Regions from separate parts of the Homo sapiens genome. Here all the other regions are linked to region 1. The links are contacts of gene promoters, found by promoter capture Hi-C in human tissues and cell types (Jung and others, 2019). All regions are on one chromosome and are shown on one strand. Each heading gives the region's core, a stretch centred on a gene start or on the middle of the fragment in contact. The rest is flanking DNA. Distances are from core to core; before and after follow the strand shown.

Region 1 (3,879 bases), core at 417-2,916:
CAATGGGAAGAACTGAAATACCACAGACCCTCCCAGAGATGACAAGGGCTGCCCCCTACAGTCTAGAGCCCTAGAATGCACAGACTCCTTGATCAAGTGGCCAGAGTGGTCCATCTGGGTCAGGTTGTTCTCATGGCCATATTTGATTGTGGAATACCACCTGGCCCCATAACCTACTCATTCACTGGAGTCTCCACCCCTCATAGGATCAAGGTGTTTGGACTGTTTGCTGTAGCCTCTGGAAAAATTAAGAATGGAGTGGGAGAGCCAGGCTTGGGTTGGGTGAAACATGTATCTCCCAAGGTGACCCTAGGTGAGGGGGAGGAAGAAGGAAATGGGCTGCTGGGCCAGATCCATGGGGCACATCTTGAAGGGCAAGACTAGGTGTGTCTTTCTCTTTGCAGAAGGCAGAGTCGTCTGGGCCTAGACACGAGGAGGCTGGGCCATGCTGGAGGTTGAGGGTGGCAGGGGAGGAGATTATAGCCCACCTAAACACTACCAAAAGAGCACATAGATACACTAAATCATTTGGAATCCAGTCCCTACTCCCTACATGAGTATATTATCCATGTGGCATTTTAAGCTCTCCCTGCATACCTGCGTCTCCCTTTCATGTCTTTGGGTTCCTGATCATCCACGCTGCCAGAGCTATAGTGGATTGTGGGTAGAGGGACAGGAAGGCTGTGTGCTTTGAGTCTCCATCCCTGGGGCTGACCATGGAACAGGTCATGCTCTGTGGTACATTTTGGCCCCTGCACCATCCATCACCCTGGTTTTCTTTGCAGAAGTATGTACCTAAACAAGAAGCGAGGCCACCTGGGAAGTGGAGGTCTCAGCCCAGCCCAGGGGAGTGAGCCCACAGACAGAAGAAGAGTGACTACTAACAAGCAGAAAGGGACCTGGGCACTTGATTCAGATGAGGACCCTGGTGACTCTGCCCCTTCCAGTGGGCTCAAGCCCCTGCCCAAGAGTCCAGTTTTATCATCTAGGGGGACATCTAGGGCTGGCAGGATCTTGCCGTCTCTCCCTTGGCCCTGGGGTTTGGGGCAGGAGCCTTCTAGACAAGGCCCAGGCACTAGGCCCACCAATGCAGGTGTACCAAACAGGACTCTTCTCTAAGAGGCCTTTGGCTTGGAGAAGAGCCTGGACCTGGCGGCTCCCAAGTTTTTACTTCTCTCAAAGTGCTACCCAGCTGCCTATAGCACATGGGCCCCTGTTGCATTAAATCTATAAATAAAACTTCACACCCCAATACTTATCCTAGGCAGAATCCTAGGCGTCCCACCCCTCGCGCAAACCTGCCTTCCTGGGATGGGAGAATTTGGAAACGCTCCCTGAGCCAGTCCTGGGGAGCTTCCTTCCAGCCCCTGCCCCGGTGGTGGGGGGTCCGCAGAGATCCGCGGGAGGTCCGGGCACGCACGCCTGGCTGTGGGGAAATTCGGCCCCGTCAGGCGGCCGCGCTCACAGGAGCAGCGTGACCCGTCGGCCCCGGGGGTGCTGGCGCCAGGAGCCAGCACTCGCGGTGCGCTCCCCCGCGCCTGGCTTCCCTGGACTGTCGCCAGTCCTACTCTGCCTGAGGTGGCGAGGGCAGGGTGGAGCGCGGCCTTTTCTGGCCTGAGGAGGAGTCACTCGGGAGGTCACTCGGCTGCTGGGCGGGCTGCTGTCACAGGCGCTGCGTGCCCTGGCTCTGCTCGCCACTGGCCGGCGCGCTCCCGGCGCACGGAGCACACTCGCGCTCCCGGCGCACGGAGCACACTCGCGCTCCGGGACTGAAACCTGAGCAGCCGTAGCAGCCGAATTTGGGAGCATATCCTTGTCACTGCAGCCAGAAAGCCCTTCGATCCCCATCAGAGAGGTCACATGAGCCCCGAGGTCACCTGCCCGCGGAGGGGCCACCTGCCTCGCTTCCACCCGAGGACCTGGGTTGAGCCCGTGGTGGCCTCGTCCCAGGTGGCTGCCTCCCTCTACGATGCGGGGCTACTCCTCGTGGTGAAGGCGTCCTACGGAACCGGAGGCTCCTCCAACCACAGTGCCAGCCCATCGCCCCGGGGGGCTCTAGAGGACCAACAGCAGAGAGCCATCTCCAATTTCTACATTATCTACAACCTTGTGGTGGGCCTGTCCCCCCTGCTGTCCGCCTACGGGCTGGGATGGCTCAGCGACCGCTACCACCGAAAGATCTCCATCTGCATGTCGCTGCTGGGCTTCCTGCTCTCCCGCCTCGGGCTGCTGCTCAAGGTGCTGCTGGACTGGCCAGTGGAGGTGCTGTACGGGGCGGCGGCGCTGAACGGGCTATTCGGCGGCTTCTCCGCCTTCTGGTCCGGGGTCATGGCGCTGGGATCGCTGGGCTCCTCCGAGGGCCGCCGCTCTGTGCGCCTCATCCTCATTGACCTGATGCTGGGCTTGGCGGGGTTCTGCGGGAGCATGGCTTCCGGGCATCTCTTCAAGCAGATGGCTGGGCACTCTGGGCAGGGCCTGATACTGACGGCCTGCAGCGTGAGCTGTGCCTCGTTTGCCCTGCTCTACAGCCTTTTGGTGCTAAAGGTCCCTGAGTCGGTGGCCAAACCCAGCCAGGAGCTCCCCGCCGTGGATACCGTGTCTGGCACGGTTGGCACATACCGCACTCTGGATCCTGATCAGTTGGACCAACAGTATGCAGTGGGGCACCCTCCATCTCCTGGAAAAGCAAAACCCCATAAAACCACCATTGCCTTGCTCTTTGTGGGTGCTATCATATATGACCTGGCGGTGGTGGGCACAGTGGACGTGATCCCTCTTTTTGTGCTGAGGGAGCCTCTCGGTTGGAACCAAGTGCAGGTGGGCTATGGTATGGCTGCAGGGTACACCATCTTCATCACCAGCTTCCTGGGTGTCCTGGTCTTCTCCCGCTGCTTTCGGGACACCACCATGATCATGATTGGGATGGTCTCCTTTGGGTCAGGAGCCCTCCTCTTGGCTTTTGTGAAAGAGACATACATGTTCTATATTGGTGAGTCTGTCATTCTTGAGGAGGCAGGACATTGCTAGCCCTCTGCATCATGGGGCTGACACCAGGGATGCCATGGTCTGGGTGTCCTAGCTCAGCACCAGGGATTGAACCTGCTACCTAGGAGGCACAAGGGACACAAGATTATATGCCCCTGAGTTTATCTGTAATGTATTGTTAATTAATTATCTATATTGAGAATGAAATGTTACCAGAGTGGTGTTCATGGTTCTGGGCAGTCAAGGAGGTGTGGTCAGTGGTACCTGGAGTCAGTAGGGGAGGCTTCAGGATGGCCTTCAACAGAGGAGATGGAATTGGGTTTCTTCCCCCACACCCCCTTGCCATTTTAAAGGGATGGAATTTCAAAGGCCGAGCGCAGAGGCTCTCGCCTGTAATCCCAGCACTTTGGGCGGGAGGTGGGAGGATCACTTGAGGCCAGGAGTTCAAGACCAGCCTGGCCAATATAGCAAAACCTCATCTCTACCAAAAGCATAAAAATTAGCCAGGTGTGGTGGTGCACACCTGTAGTCCTAGCTACTCAGGAAGCTGAGGCACAAGAATCACTTGAACCCAAGAGGCAGCGGTTGTAGTGAGCCGAGATTGTGCCACTGCACTCTAGCCTGGGTGATAGAGCAAGACTCTGTCTCAAAAAAAAAAAAACAAACAAACAAAAAAAAAAAAACGTGGAGGAGTGGAATTTCAAGTAATTCTACTGAAAAGATCCCTTAATTAAAATCATTTGGAGTCAAGCAAGGGCTTTTTAAAAATGCATTAAAATACTCGGTAAATGCCTTCCACAACCAATGTAATAAATTCCCCAAGGAAGCAGCATTAAGTTTCCATCTGAGGGCACAAGTCAGACAACTATAAGCAGAAAGCTCGAGATGAATGCT
Region 2 (3,879 bases), core at 512-3,011, 780 kb after region 1:
TTCCCTCTCTGCCTCCATTGATTTTCACTTGCTAATAGATAACTTGGGCTTACCCAAGACCAGGTCATGTGGGACACAGAATCTAGGCATTGCTGCTGAAGGGATGATTTAGTAAAGATATAAACTCTTCTTTGGGCAGAGAGGTCAGTAGATCTGGGTCAATCCAAAGCTAGCATTGGTTCTGAGTACAGGAGAATAGGATTGGCCCTACAGGTACCTAAGGTGCAGGCTTCCTTTTGCACTTGGAGACTGCGAAGAGATTTACTAGAAGGGAGAAACGGGAGCTGAGTTGTGGAGAGTCATTTTCTGACATGGAGAAATAGCTTTCTCACTCTTCTTAGATGGGAGCCTTTCACTGGGTTTATATTTATTATGCAGTAGAGAATCAAATCCCAGGCACCAGGAGTGGGAAACAAGGGCAGTAAAACAGGGAAAGAAGGAGAGTCAGCGTATGATGCCTGATTGTACTGGTCTCCACAGAGGGTGGGCATTACCACATCTGTGTGACAGTGTCCTTAGACGCTGAAGAAACTAAGTCTTTGTTGGACAGCCCTTCAGAGGAAAGAAAGGAGGAAGGATTTCTCTACCAGCTCCTGTCCCCACAGGATTTTAACTCCCCTGCACTTCCAGATGGCATGTGCTGGGGTGTGGGTGCTGCAGCAGGGAAGTCCCAGAATAGGAGGCAAGACCTGGTCATGTTGTCAAAACCCATCCAGGGATGGGACAAGGAGCAGGGGAAGCTGAGAGAGGCTGAGGAGTTCTTAAGAGGTGTCTGCTTCAATGGGAAAGCTTGAGCTGGGGCTGTGGAATATCCCTTTTTGGTGACATGAGGACAACTTTCTCTGGGAATAATTATATGATAGCTTCTGTCTGCAGGAATTTTGTTTGTTTGTTTTTGTTTTTGTTTTTGAGATGGAGTCTCACTCTGTCACCCAGGCTGGAGTGCAGTGGCAGGATCTTGGCTCACTGCCACCTCTGCCTCCCAGGTTCAAGTGATTCTCCTGCCTCAGCCTCCCAAGTAGCTGGGACTACAGGCATGCACCACCATGCCCAGCTAATTTTTGTATTTTTAGTAGAGACGGGGTTTTGCCATGTTAGCCAGGCTGGTCTTGAACTCCTGACTTCAGGTGACCAACCTGCCTTGGCCTCCCAAAGTGCTGTGATTACAGGCGTGAGCTATTGCACCAGGCCTGTTTGTTTTTGATAGTATTGTAAATGAAATTGTTTTCTTAATTTCATCTTTGGACTGCTCATTGCTAGTATATAGAAATACAATAGATTTTTGTACATTGACCTTGTATCCCGCAACCTCACTGACCTCCTTTCTCAGCTGTAATACTTGTTTTGGTGTGGATTCCTTAGAGTTTTATATATAGAAGTATATAAGATTGTATCATTTGCAAGTAGAGATAGTTTTACTTGTCTGTAGGAAGTTTATTTTATTTTATTTTATTACTTTTGAGATGGAGTTTTGCTCCGTCACCCAGGCTGGAGTGCAGTGGTGCAATCTCAGCTCACTGCAACCTCTGCCTCCCAGGTTCAAGTGATTCTCCTGCCTCAGCCTCCCAGGTAGTTGAGATTACAGGCATGTGCCACCGTGCACCGCTAAGTTTTGTATTTTTAGTAGAGATGGGGTTTCACTATGTTGGCCAGGCTGGTCTCAAACTTCTGAGCTCAGGTAATCCGCCAACCTTGGCCTCCCAAAGTGCTGAGATTACAGGTGTGAGCCACTGCACTCGGCTGGGAATTTGATTTCAAAGAAATAAAAAGCTAGATCCCCTTTCGTTCTTCCTGTCTGCACAACCACTTGCGGGTTGACTGGGAATGCTGAAAACTATGTTACCTCAGGGAACCAAGGCCTTCATATGGTTTCCCACATTGCTGAATTCATTAGCTGGAATATATGCAGAATATTTAAAAGAAGCAGAACAACCCAGAGGAATCAGTGGCATCCTGATAGACCAGGATTAAATAGCTTCAGTTACAGGAGTCCCAGAAGTACCTAGGAACCTTGTGGAGAATTTCTTTAGTTTGCCCCAACCTGTTTCTGAGGCATGGTCCTGTGTGGTGAGACATGTCATTTTCCCCCTGGGGATAGCAGTGACTTGAAGGAGTTTCCCATCATTCTGCTGGGAAGAGAAAGGTGGAAGTAGGTCTTACCTGTGCAGTTGCAGGGAAGGTCTCACTGAGGACCCAGCTCTGGGCCTCATTCCATTCTACCAGAGTGGAATGCCAGTGGCATCCAGTGGCCTGTCAGGTGAATCACAGGTTAGAATTCTGACCTATATCCAAGCTGGAATCTTTCCTTTCCCTCTAAGTCAGGTAATGGGCCACGCTCATTCATGATGAAGAGAAGTTGGGTGATTGGCTTGGGAGAGCTTGCATTGCCTGACTCAGTGTCTGCCTCTGAGGATGAATGGTGACCAGCAGAGATACCAGCTATGCAGAGAGACTGATCTCCTTTAGAATTTTGCTAAAGCCCATTGATGCATTTTGTGAGTTGACTGCCTTTTTCTCTTTTAGAAATTCTGACAAAGATTAATGATGTATCACTGTTTAATGATACCTGTGTGAGATGGCAAATAAACTCAAGAAGAATAAACCCCAAGATCTCATATGTGGTAAGTAAAGTGATCTACTTTTTCCTGCTAGGACAGACACGTCACCCATGGGAATATGAGTCAGAGGGACTTGCTTCCGTGAGAGCTTCTCAATCTAATTGCTGTTTTTTTTTCTTTTTTTCTTTTATTTTTTTTGTGAGACAGTCTCACTCTGTTGCCCAGGCTGGAGTGCAGTGGTGGGATCTTGGCTCACTGCAACCTCAGCCTCCCGGGTTCAAGCGATTCTCCTGCCTCAGCCTCCTGAGTAGCTGGGATTAGAGGTGTGCACTACCATGCTTGGCTAATTTTTTGTATTTTCAGTAGAGATGGGGTTTCACCACGTTGGCCAGGCTGGTCTTGAACTTCTGACCTCAGATAATCCACCTACCTCGGCCTCCCAGAGTGCTGGGATTATAGGCATGAGCCACCGCGCCTGGCCTCAATCTAATTGCTTTCTGATCCCATTGTCATTTAAAAAGAGTGGATGGAATTTTTGAAGATATCTGGATGATTTCGTTATTTTGCATTTTGTGTTTAACATATTTGTCATTCAGCAGGGTGCATGTGTGGGGGATGCATTTATATTTGGCATCCTCACGATTGCTTGTTTCCAAGCACTTGTATTTCACTCCCCCAGAGCAAGCCCGGGAGCGTCTGCTGACTTGGTGACAGAGTGCAGCCAATGGTCCTCAGGTTGCAATTGTCTCCATTTGATCATTTGTGTGCAGGAGAGCACTTCCTAGGGAGATTTCTCATTTATGTCTCCTCTAGGGGTTTAATATTCACTGGGCTGATCAGACTTTATCAGCAGACCAGGTTTACCTTACGAATGCTCCCTGGCTGAGCAGCACAGTATAAAATAGAATAGTAGGAGAATGGGCTCCAGCACCACAAATCCTGGATTGTTTTGACTGGAGTCAGAGTGGGTTCTCTTGTCTTTTCCTCTCAAAGATATCCATAAAAGGACAACGGTTGGACCCTATGGAATCAGTTCGTGAGGAGACAGTCAACTTGACCACAGACAGCAGGACCCCAGAAGTGTGCCTAGCCCTGTACCCAGGCACCAACTACACCGTGAACATCTCCACAGCACCTCCCAGGCGCTCGATGCCAGCCGTCATCGGTTTCCAGACAGCTGGTAGGTGGAGGTGAAGTCTCATTTCCTCCTAGAAAATGCTAAGCACAGAATGTGGGGAAGTATGCTGCAGAATCAGCTGGGCTGGAGAGCTCCTATTTGCTGTCTGAGATTTATACTCAGATGTAGTTGCTCCAGCCACAG
Region 3 (3,879 bases), core at 948-3,447, 740 kb after region 1:
CTTGCCTTGGCCTCCCAAAGTGCTGAGATTACAGATGCAAATCACTGTGCCTGGCCTGTGTCTGAGTTTTTAATAAGAAAGTTTAAAAAGTAAAAACATTTTTTTTCCAATTAAAAAATTAGCCAGGTGTGGTGGCAGGTACCTGTGGTCCTAGCTATTCAAGAAGTCGAGGCAGGAGGATCCCTTGAGCCGAGGAGGTTGAGGCTGCAGTGAGCTATGGTCACACCACTGCACTCCAGCCTTGGTTATGATGCAAGACCCTGTTTACAAAAAAAAAAAAAAAAAAAAGATTAAAAAAAATAATAGAAGAAAAAAGCTAATAAAAGGCTGGATGTGGTGGCTTATGCCTGCAATCTAATCCCAGCACTTTGGGACGTGGAGGCACAAGGAATCCTTGAGGCCAGGAGTTCGAGATGAGTCTGAGCAACATATTGAGACCCCTCCATCTGTACAAAAAAAAAAAAAAAAAATTATCCAGGCACAGTAGCAGTCACCTGTGGTCCTAGCTACTCAGGGAGGTTGGGGTGGGAGAATCACTTGAGCTTAGGAGGTTGAGGTTGCAGTGAGCTATGATCACACCACTGCACTCCAGTCAGGGTGACAGAGCAAGACCCTGTCTCCAGAAAAAAAACAAAAAACAAAAAAAACCATATAGAATTTCATATAAAGAAACAAAAAAAAATTCTTCGTACAGCTGTAGAATGTGTTTGTATTTTAAGTTAAGCATTATTACAAAAGAGTCAATAAGTTAAAAAAATTGAAAAGTTTAAGTAAAAAAGCTACAGTAAGCTAAAGTTAATTTATTATTGAAGAAAGATCCCTTTTTTTTTTTTTTTTGAGACAGAGTCTCACTCTGTCACCCTGGCTGGAGTGCAATGGCGCGATCTCGGCTCACTGCAACCTCCGCCTCCTGGGTTCAAATGATTCTCCTGCCTCAGCCTCCCAAGTAGCTGGGATTACAGGCGTGCACCACCACAACTGGCTAATTTTTGTATTTTTTTTTTTGAGATGGAGTTTTGCTCTTGTTGCCCAGGCTGGAGTGCAATGGCGCGATCTTGGCTCACTGCAACCTCTGCCTCCCAGGTTCAAGCAATTCTCCTGCCTCAGCCTCCTGAGTAACTGAGATTACAGGCATGTACCACTGTGCCCGGCTAATTTTGTATTTTTAGTAGAGACGGGGTTTCTCCATGTTGAGGCTGGTCTTGAACTCCTGACCTCAGGTGATCCGCCCACCTCAGCCTCCCAAAGTGCTGGGATTACAGGCATGAGCCACCGCACCCGGCCTAATTTTTGTATTTTTAGTAGAGACGGGGTTTCACCTTGTTGGCCAGGATGGTCTTGAACTCCTGACCTCAGGTGATCTGCCTGCCTTGGCCTCCCAAAGTGCTGGGATTACAGACGTGAGCCACTGTGCCCGGCCAAGAAAGATACTTTTTTTTTTTTGAGATGGAATTTCACTCTTGTTGCCCAGCTGGAGTGCAATGGCATGATCTCTGCTTGCTACAACCTCCACTTCCCGGGTTCAAGCAATTCTCCTGCCTCAGCCTCCTGAGTAGTTGGAATTACAGGTGCCCGCCATTATGCCCAGCTAATTTTTGTATTTTTAGTAGAGATGGGGTTTCACCATGTTGGCCAGGCTGGTCTCGAACTCCTGACCTCAGGCGATCCTCCTGCCTCAGCCTCCCAAAGTTCTGGGATTACAGGTGTGAACCAACGTGCCTGGCCAAGAAAGATACTTTTATAAATTTAGTGTAGCCTATGTGTACAGTGTTTAGAAAGTTTACAGTAAGGCTGGATGTGGTGGCTCACACCTGTAATCCCTTTGGGAGCTCTTTGGGAGGCTAAGGTGGGAGGATCCCTTAAGGCCAGGAGTTTGAGACCAGCCTGGGCAACATAGTGAGAGCTGATCTCTACAATTAGAAACTAGAAATTAACTGGGCACGATGGCTTGTGCCTGTAGTGCTAGCTGCTCCTAGCCCCAGGAGGCTGAGGCAAGAGGATTGCTTGAGCCCAGGAGTTCAAGGCTGCAGTGAGCTATGATCGTGCCAGTGCAATTTAGCCTGGGTGACAGAGGGAGACCCTGTCTCTATATAAAAATAAAAGTCTACAGTCATGTATCATAACGTTCTAGGCCTTCCTATTCACTCACTCACTGACTTACCTAGAGCAGCTTCCAGTCCTGCAAGTTCCATTTCATGGTAAGTGCTCTCTAGAGATGTATCAGTTTTTTACATTTTATACTGTATTTTTACTGTACCACTTCTATGTTTAGATATATTTAGATACACTAATACTTCCCACTGTGTTACAGTTGCCTACGGTATTCAGTACAGTAACATGCTATACAGGTTTCTAGCCTAGGAGCACTACACTCTACCATATAACCTAAGTGTGTAGTTGGCTATGCCATTTAGGTTTGTGTAAATACACCCTATGATGTTCCCACAATCATGAACTTGCCTAATGACACAATCCTCAGTATGTGTCCCCATCATTAAGTGACATATGACTGTAAAATAAAAATAATAATAAAAAACCCACCCAGATCTTCTGGAGGGTACTTTTGGTTGAATAAGAATTGAGTGCAATTGTGAGAGGCCATTAAACGGATATGAGGGGCCCACTGGTGAAATAAAACACGAAGTAACAAACAAGCTACAAATTCATAAGTTGATGATTTTTCTCCCAAAAAAAGCTAACTGTGTAGATCAGCTCTAAAAGGATGCATAAACAATTTGGTCACAGGAGTTTCCTCTTAAATTAGAGGGTTAGGCAGAGTCAGCAAACTATGGCCCATGGGCCAAGTTCGACCTGCTGCCTGTTTCTGTAGGTGGAGTTTTACTGGTACGTAGCATTGCTTGGTAGTTTACCTGTTGTCTACAGCTGCTTTCGTGCCCATGAGCACAGGTGAGTTGTTGCAACAGATACTGTGAGAAAAAGTTTGCTGACCCCTGAGCTAGAGGGCAGAGATGAGAGGGAGATTTACGTTCATTTTGCATCTTTCACTTTCATATTATTCAATGAAAAACACTCTGGGCAAGCTTCTGGGGACTCATCGAGCATCCATGTTCCAGGCCTCTGCACTGAGGGACTAACATTATTCACCACAGGTCATTGACCATTAGCATGAGCTATTCCTGCTTCTGCATTAGCCCTGCTCCGGATGAGGCTGCAGCACTAATTCCATTGTGTTTCTTGGTAGTTCAGAAGGAAGAAATTTTCCAGTTAATCACTGGCTGTAAAGTCACCCTACCCTGGCTTTCATGGAAAACCATGAGAATGGCTGAACTGGAAAAGGGGAATTCTGCTGGTTTGTTTCCGTGGGCCTCTGAAAAGATCTTTTTAAGCTTGGAAAAGTTCAAAGAGAACCCTCTTCTCCCAATCTTCAAATCAGACGGATTGCCAGATTGAGGTGTTGTGTTTCTCTTGGGGTTTCATACACTCCTGGCACATAACTACGAGGGGCCCAGGTCCTGTAGTCTGGGGAGCATCGTGAAAGGAGAAGAGGCTGGAGAAATAGATCACTAAGGTGTGGTCACAGAACGTTGGTTCCCGAGTCCATAGCATGGGAGGACAGTCTGGGCTGTTGAAGTCGGTGTGGATTGATAGCTCTTCCGGTGCCTTGTCTGTGTGTCAACAGATAAAAATGAGTGCCAGTTTGGAGCCACTCTTGTCTGTGGGAACCACACATCTTGCCACAACACCCCCGGGGGCTTCTATTGCATTTGCCTGGAAGGATATCGAGCCACAAACAACAACAAGACATTCATTCCCAACGATGGCACCTTTTGTACAGGTACTCAAGAAGGGGGCTGCGGTGTTGACAATTGGCGATGGCAGGATAGTATCTGGGCTGTGTATTTGTTAATATTAGGGAAT

Evidence for each region. The method cuts DNA at HindIII sites, captures the fragments that hold promoters and counts their contacts. A contact is called where the count stands out against the background at its distance.
Region 2: a fragment that was not itself captured here is called in contact with the fragment with the promoter of SLC46A2 in region 1 in 1 of the 25 tissues and cell types used here (heart left ventricle).
Region 3: a contact is called between a fragment that was not itself captured here and the fragment with the promoter of SLC46A2 in region 1, in 1 of the 25 tissues and cell types used here (H1 embryonic stem cells).

Annotation. Positions count from the first base shown.
Region 1 is chr9:112,888,663-112,892,541 of GRCh38, reverse strand. It overlaps SLC46A2 (solute carrier family 46 member 2), which reads left to right and starts at 1,666. Exons shown (of 4, transcript NM_033051.4): 1 at 1,666-2,989. The coding sequence starts at 1,861. The HindIII fragment of the contact is 12,966 bases long and covers 1-3,879 here.
Region 2 is chr9:112,111,513-112,115,391 of GRCh38, reverse strand. SUSD1 (sushi domain containing 1) reads left to right here. Exons shown (of 17, transcript NM_022486.5): 7 at 2,524-2,621; 8 at 3,552-3,738. Among named protein-coding and RNA genes, the nearest start is that of SUSD1, 62 kb to the left of the region's middle. The HindIII fragment of the contact is 6,336 bases long and covers 1-3,879 here.
Region 3 is chr9:112,149,161-112,153,039 of GRCh38, reverse strand. It overlaps SUSD1 (sushi domain containing 1), which reads left to right. Exons shown (of 17, transcript NM_022486.5): 3 at 3,641-3,796. Among named protein-coding and RNA genes, the nearest start is that of SUSD1, 24 kb to the left of the region's middle. The HindIII fragment of the contact is 3,844 bases long and covers 276-3,879 here.